2 separate regions of the Homo sapiens genome follow, and region 2 is linked to region 1. The links are contacts of gene promoters, found by promoter capture Hi-C in human tissues and cell types (Jung and others, 2019). All regions are on one chromosome and are shown on one strand. Each heading gives the region's core, a stretch centred on a gene start or on the middle of the fragment in contact. The rest is flanking DNA. Distances are from core to core; before and after follow the strand shown. Region 1 holds the start of CYP2W1 (cytochrome P450 family 2 subfamily W member 1). Region 2 overlaps PRKAR1B (protein kinase cAMP-dependent type I regulatory subunit beta).

The links. The method cuts DNA at HindIII sites, captures the fragments that hold promoters and counts their contacts. A contact is called where the count stands out against the background at its distance.
Region 2: a fragment that was not itself captured here is called in contact with the fragment with the promoter of CYP2W1 in region 1 in 1 of the 25 tissues and cell types used here (lymphoblastoid cells).

The regions. Positions count from the first base shown.
Region 1 is chr7:981,567-984,745 of GRCh38, forward strand. It overlaps CYP2W1 (cytochrome P450 family 2 subfamily W member 1), which reads left to right and starts at 1,615. Exons shown (of 9, transcript NM_017781.3): 1 at 1,615-1,819; 2 at 2,846-3,008. The coding sequence starts at 1,646. It also overlaps a transcript of CHLSN not described here. The HindIII fragment of the contact is 22,766 bases long and covers 1-3,179 here.
Region 2 is chr7:611,137-614,315 of GRCh38, forward strand. The region is part of intron 4 of PRKAR1B (protein kinase cAMP-dependent type I regulatory subunit beta); the gene reads right to left. It overlaps LOC105375119 (a long non-coding RNA gene), which reads right to left. Exons shown (of 2, transcript XR_007060176.1): 1 at 2,703-3,179; 2 at 1,825-2,435. Among named protein-coding and RNA genes, the nearest start is that of PRKAR1B-AS1, 9.9 kb to the left of the region's middle. RefSeq lists enhancers at 2,309-2,809, 2,810-3,179. The HindIII fragment of the contact is 9,856 bases long and covers 1-3,179 here.

The DNA of each region.
Region 1 (3,179 bases), core at 365-2,864:
AGCCAGGTGTGGTGGCATGTGCCTGTAATCCCAGCTACTCGGGAGGCTGAGGCAGGAGAATCGCTCCAACCCGGGAGGCGGAGGTTGCAGTGAGCCGAGATCACGCCATTGTAGTCCAGCCTGGCAACAGAGTGAGATTCCGTCTCAAAAACAACAAAAACCCAAAACTTAAAAAATTAGGCCAGGTGCAGTGGCTTACACCTGCAATCCCAACACTTTGGGAGGTCGAGGCAGGAGGATTGCTTGAACCCAGGAGTGTGAGACCAGCCTGAGCAACGTAGCAGGACCTCCATTTCTACATAAATAAATAAATAAAGTTAGCTAGGCTGGGTGGTGCATGCCTGTAGTCCCAGCTATTTGGGAGGCTGAGGTGGGAGGATGGCTTGAGCCCCGGAGGTGGAGGCTGCAGTGAGCCTGTACTCACAGCACGGTAATCCAGCCTGGGCAACAGAGCAAGACCCTGTCTCAAAAACAAAACACACAAAAATCAAAAGTATTCCCTGAATTAATTAAGTAAGCTTTGCTAGGCAGGTAGGACCCCCAGCCTACCCAGTAGTGGCCCTGGTATGAGGCACTCCCTCCCCGCCGCAGCCGCCCAGCCCTGGCCCTGAGGCTGTACAGCAGGATAGAGGTAGTGAGCTCCCCACCACAGGAGGCGTGCAACTGTGCCTGGGGCTTTCCCTCCCAGCTAATCAAGGGGGACCAACCCGGGAGGGGTGAGGGCCTCAGGCTGCCTCGGCTCTGCGGTTCGTACAGGGCATGGGCAACGCCCCAGAGACAGGCTGTGGGGAGGGTCCCGCCTGCTGGCACCAGCTCCAGCTGCCTCATGTCAGGGCAGGCTGTGCAAAGCAGGCCCGGCCGCTTCTGCTGCCAGCAGCCCTCCCACCCCTCACAGCGGTTTAGGAGACAGATGGACAGGGCTCGTAAACCCCGCCACCTGCCACCCGGCAGCCCTTCCATGTTCCTGTCCTAGCTCAGAGGGTTGCATCCCCTGCCCGGGCGGCAGCCCTCGAAAAGGAGCAGGCTGCTACCTGGGGCGAGAACACCCTCAGGGAGATGCAGGTGGTGGCCTGTGAGGACTGTGGGATTTGAGTCCCCTCATGGGCCTCCCTGAGGTCTCACTCCTGTCCCTTGCCCCGTGGGGAGCTGATCAGAGAAGAGCTGGGTGCACACGGATGGGGTTTGGGAGAGGCCTGCAAACCCTGAGCTCCACAGGGTCCCACTCAGAGCCTGTGAAAGGCAGGGGGCTCCCCTCCAAGCCAGGGCCTCGGCCCCAAAGCCCTGTGAATCCCAGTTCTGAGGGGTGGCCAAGGCCAAGGGGCCTGGACTGGCAGGTTCAGCAGAACCAGGGGCAGAACAGTCCACGTGCCACATCCTTCTCTCTGGCCAGGAGACATGGATGCCTGACCCCAGAGGGCCCCCGTCCTGCCCTCCCCTCCCCGGCCCCACCAGGGCCTCAGCCCCACATTCCACGCAGGCCTGCAGCTTTAAGCCATCCGCTGGGGGCTGCCCTGCAAACTGCTCGTTCCACATTCTCGGGGTGGTGGGGTGGGTGGGGTGCGGGCACGCCCTCCCGCGGAGGCCTATAAGGGTGCGGGGGGGACGGGGCCCAGGAGGGGAGTGGAGCCTCACCAGCCACGTCCTCATGGCCCTGCTGCTCTTGCTGTTCCTGGGCCTCCTGGGGCTCTGGGGGCTGCTCTGCGCCTGCGCCCAAGACCCCTCCCCAGCTGCCCGGTGGCCCCCGGGGCCTCGCCCGCTGCCGCTCGTCGGGAACCTGCACTTGCTGCGTCTGTCGCAACAGGACCGGTCCCTGATGGAGGTAAGTCAGGGAGCCCGGGCAGCTCTTGCCGCTTGGACAGCTGCCGTGTCCTGGCCCCCCTCCTGGGGAAGCCCAGCCCGGTTTCCACTGCCTGTTCCCACATGGTGCCGGGCCCAGCGGGGCACGCAGGAGGCCGGAGGGCCCACCCTGCTTTTGGGAGGGGAAAGCCACCCCGTCCCACAGGGAAGCAGACACACTGAGTACGAAGAAGCCCTGGAGGTGCCACCCAGGGCCCGGCGCGGGAGCAGGAGTCTGGAGGGCTCCCTGGAGGCGGTGGCGTCTGCTGAGAGCCCGCAGGAGGCCAGGCTTAGGGACAGCAGAGGGGAGGAGGGCCTGGGCCTGTCGGCTGCCTGCTCAGCCCCCCTCGGCCCTCAGGTGTTCAACAGCAAACACTTCCCACTTTTGAGCCTCTGTTTCCTCATCTGTGAAATGGGAAGAGGACCTGTGCCTCCTGGGCAGGGATGCTGAGGACAGAGGGTACGGGGACACGGCACGGGGCAGCCTGACTAGCACTGTCGCTCTGTCCTCGCTCAGGCAGGCAGGGTCAGTGGGACAGGGCTGACCAGTCAGGCCCGGGCCCTGCCTCCGGCTGCCCCCAACTGCGGGCTGGGGTGCTGCTGGCCGGGCTGTAGCCGAAGACGGATCAGGGTCTCTGGGGGCCGAGCCTGTCAGGCCCTCACTCTGTGCAGACTCTGGCCTTTCAGAATGTGCCACCCCAGCAGACAGCCAGCCCCCGACCTTGCCGCCTGGACTCAGGGCTTGAGCCCCCCAGGAATTTTGGCTAAAAAGAAAATCCCACAACAGCCATGCCAAGCACCAGATGGCGAGAGGGCTCTGTGGGCTCCAGGCTGGGCGCTGCCCCCTCCACCCTGCACCACTGGCTTTATGGCATCTAGGCGTGCCCCCTCCACCTGCCCCCATTTTCCCTCTGTCCCCACCCCTACCCAGCACAGGCCCGGCCTGAGGGGACCTAAGGGGGGTCTTGTGGGTGAGGGCTGCCCGGGTGACCCCCGCCATCCCTGCCAGCTCTCAGAACGCTACGGGCCGGTGTTCACCGTGCACCTGGGGCGCCAGAAGACGGTGGTGCTGACGGGGTTCGAGGCGGTCAAAGAGGCGCTGGCGGGCCCCGGGCAGGAGCTGGCCGACCGGCCTCCCATCGCCATCTTCCAGCTCATCCAGCGAGGTGGAGGTCGGTGTGTGGCCGGCGCTACGGGGCCTACTGGGTGTGGGGGCACCTGGACCCCAGGAGGGGTGGGGGCTCCAGCAGCGGGAGAGGCTCCCAGGGTGGCCTGGGGAAGAGCAGGCAGGAGCTGGGCCTCCGGGCTGGTGCTGAGAAGGGCCAGGTGTCCACACAGCAGGT
Region 2 (3,179 bases), core at 207-2,706, 370 kb before region 1:
TCAAGAAGCCAGGAAGAGGTGAAGTCAGGCTGAAGCCCCTATCATGAACGCTCCTCCACGGTCTGGCTTCCCTATAGGGGCAGAGCCCTCCTCCGAGCAGAGCATGTGCCTCCCTCTCGTCCACCCCTCCCTCTCTCTGTCTCTCTCTCCATCTGTGCCCTGGACTGGTCTCTAAGCTGGGGATTGAGGGCCTGAGCGTCTGGGACGGCCACCCCCAGCTCTCTCTGGGCAGGCGTCCAGTAAGGAGCCCCTGCTATTTGGGTCAGGGCTGGCCAGTGGTGCTGGGTCAGGACAGTTTCCAGGAAACGGCCTGTCCCGGGTTCCAGTCCTACCTGGCCTGTGGCTCAGAGATCACAAACCTTTTGAAAGCCCCCGCCCACACCACTCCCGATCCTGATGCCTCCCCCTCCTGCAACACCTCAGTTCCTGTGCTTCTCACTCCACGGATGGCTTCCGCCTCCCACAGCTGACTGAGCTCTCAGATGGAGACCACATGTTCCTTGCAGGCTCTAGTGCCCAGCCCGGGTCTGACGCAGAAGCTCCTCAGCACAATATGGATGGTTGGATGGGTGGGTGGATGAACGGATGAGTGAATGGACACATGGATGTACAGGTGGGTGAGTAGACGAATGAATGGATGGATGGATGGATGGATGGATGGACAGGCGGGTGGATTGAACAGGTGGGTGAGCGGATGGATGGATGGACAAATGGGTGAGTAGATGAATCGATGGATGGATGGACAGGTGGGTGGATGAACAGGTGGGTGAGTAGATCAACGGATGGATGGATGGATGGACAGGTGGGTGGATGAACAGGTGGGTGAGTAGATCAACGGATGGATGGATGGATGGATGGACAGATGGATGGACGGACAGGTGGGTGGATGAATAGGTGGGTGAGTAGAATAACGGATGGATGGATGGATGGATGGATGGACGGACAGGTGGGTGGATGAACAGGTGTGTGAGTAGATTTGAGTAGATTAATGGATGGATGGATGGATGTAAGGATGGATGATGGATGGATGGACAGGTGGGTGGATGTACAGGTGGGTGAGTAGATCAACGGATGGATGGATGGATAGATGGACAGGTGGGTGGATGAACAGGTGGGTGAGTAGATCAACGGATGGATGGATGGATAGATGGATGGACGGACAGGTGGGTGGATGAACAGGTGTGTGAGTAGATTTGAGTAGATTAATGGATGGATGGATGGACAGGTGGGTGGATGTACAAGTGGGTGGGTGGATGGATAGATGGATGGATGGACAGGTGGGTGGATGAACAGGTGTGTGAGTAGATTTGAGTAGATTAGTGGATGGATGGATGGATGGATGTAAGGATGGATGATAGATGGATGGATGGACAGCTGGGTGGATGAACAAGTGGGTGGGTGGATGGATAGATGGATGGATGGACAGGTGGATGGACCGACAGATGATGGATGGGTGGCTATTAGAGGAGAGGAAGGAAGGGAAAAGTGAATGAAAAAACGGATGCCTGGAAGGATGAATGGAAGGATGGCACTGCCTCTTTAAGGGCATTGCAACAAATATCAAAAGCTGCTGGAGTGGCCACCCTTGGGACCCTCAGTTCCACATTTAGGAACTTGAAGAAACAACGGGATGACTATGAAAAGATGTAAAAATATTGTAATAATATTCACCGAAGCACTGCCAGCAACAGAGGCTTTATTAAATAAACGACACTGAAAAGATGTGTGTGTGTAATAATATTCACCGAAGCACTGTCAGCAACAGAGGCTTTATTAAATAAACGACAATGAAAAGATGTGTGTGTGTAATAATATTCACCGAAGCACTGTCAGCAATACAGGCTTTATTAAATAAATCACAGTCCTTCTCAACAACCTAACACCGTGTGGTCATTAAAAATGGTGGTGTAGATACATGTAACAAGGAATAAAGGTGTTCACAGTGTTGCCAGTGAAAATAGGGTGTCGATGAAACTGTACAATTTAAAAACACAACCATAAAGTAAATAACCTAGAGGCTATGCACCGTAAGGCTAATAGCAACTGTGGGGTGGAGAGGGGGTGGGGTTGGGGTCATTTTCATGTGTTTTTTTCTTTTTCTTTTGTTTTTTTTTTTTTGATTACTTGTACTGACGTGTATTTTCTAATTTTCTATAATTACATTGTAAATCTGTGTAATTTTAAAAATGAGGCCGTTCATCATTGGAGAAAACACGACACGTACGCTTAAGGGCAGACTTAAGGCTCTTAACATTTTTAAAGCAACCAAAAGAGGCAAAATGTAGACTTTAAAACACAAAAATGTGCTTTTCTGAGTGTGGCACAGACTCCAAGCCCACAACGTCTGAGGAAGCGTACGGGATCAGAACCAGCAGCTCCGTTCACAGCCAAACTCGCCTTCAAAAGGCAAGGAGATGGCGCGCCAAGCTCAGCCCCTGAAATCACACACGCGGGGTTGAACGTGAGTAACTCAGCCCATCGTTCCGCACTGTGAATCTGCTCCAATACCTGCAGAGACAGGTCCAGCTCCCACTACGAGGGCCCACCGACCAACACGGTACACCGAGGGTGAAAAAGCCACGACCAGGCCCACCTGGAAAACACCATCAGCTCCTAGAAATGCCACTTCCTTCCTCCTCCCGCCGCTCCGGGCCTCCCGAGCCAAGACAAGCGCAGGTTGGGACTTGCACGGGAAAGCTCACCTGAGAATGTTTCCAGAAACCCCTCCCCAGCCTGCAGAGACCTCTCCCGGCCCCAGGACAGGGAAGCCTGCGGAGCCAAGAGGGTGCAGTGCTGGGAGGTCCCCGCAGGGGCAAGCAGGGCTGCCACCAAGCGGGTGGGAGACACCCAAGGACTCGTCCACCACCCAGGGAACCGGACTGTGAGGTTCAGGTCAGCATGGAGGGCGGGAGGCGTGGCGCCCACAGAGGGGAGGGGAGCCAGGCCCAGATGACAGACGCCTGCAGACTCCACGCCCCGCACGCCCGACCAGGACAGGCCAACGCAGGGCTGGGCACTTCTTCGGACTCACAGGAAGCCTCTGTCCATAGTCTGGCTACATCTGCCCAACCTCAGCCACTCAGGACTGTCTACACAAAACACTCAGCAGCATATACGACAGGATGCGCAGAATGACAGATTCAACCTGCCTCATCAGCTCCAAGATGGTGGAACACGGC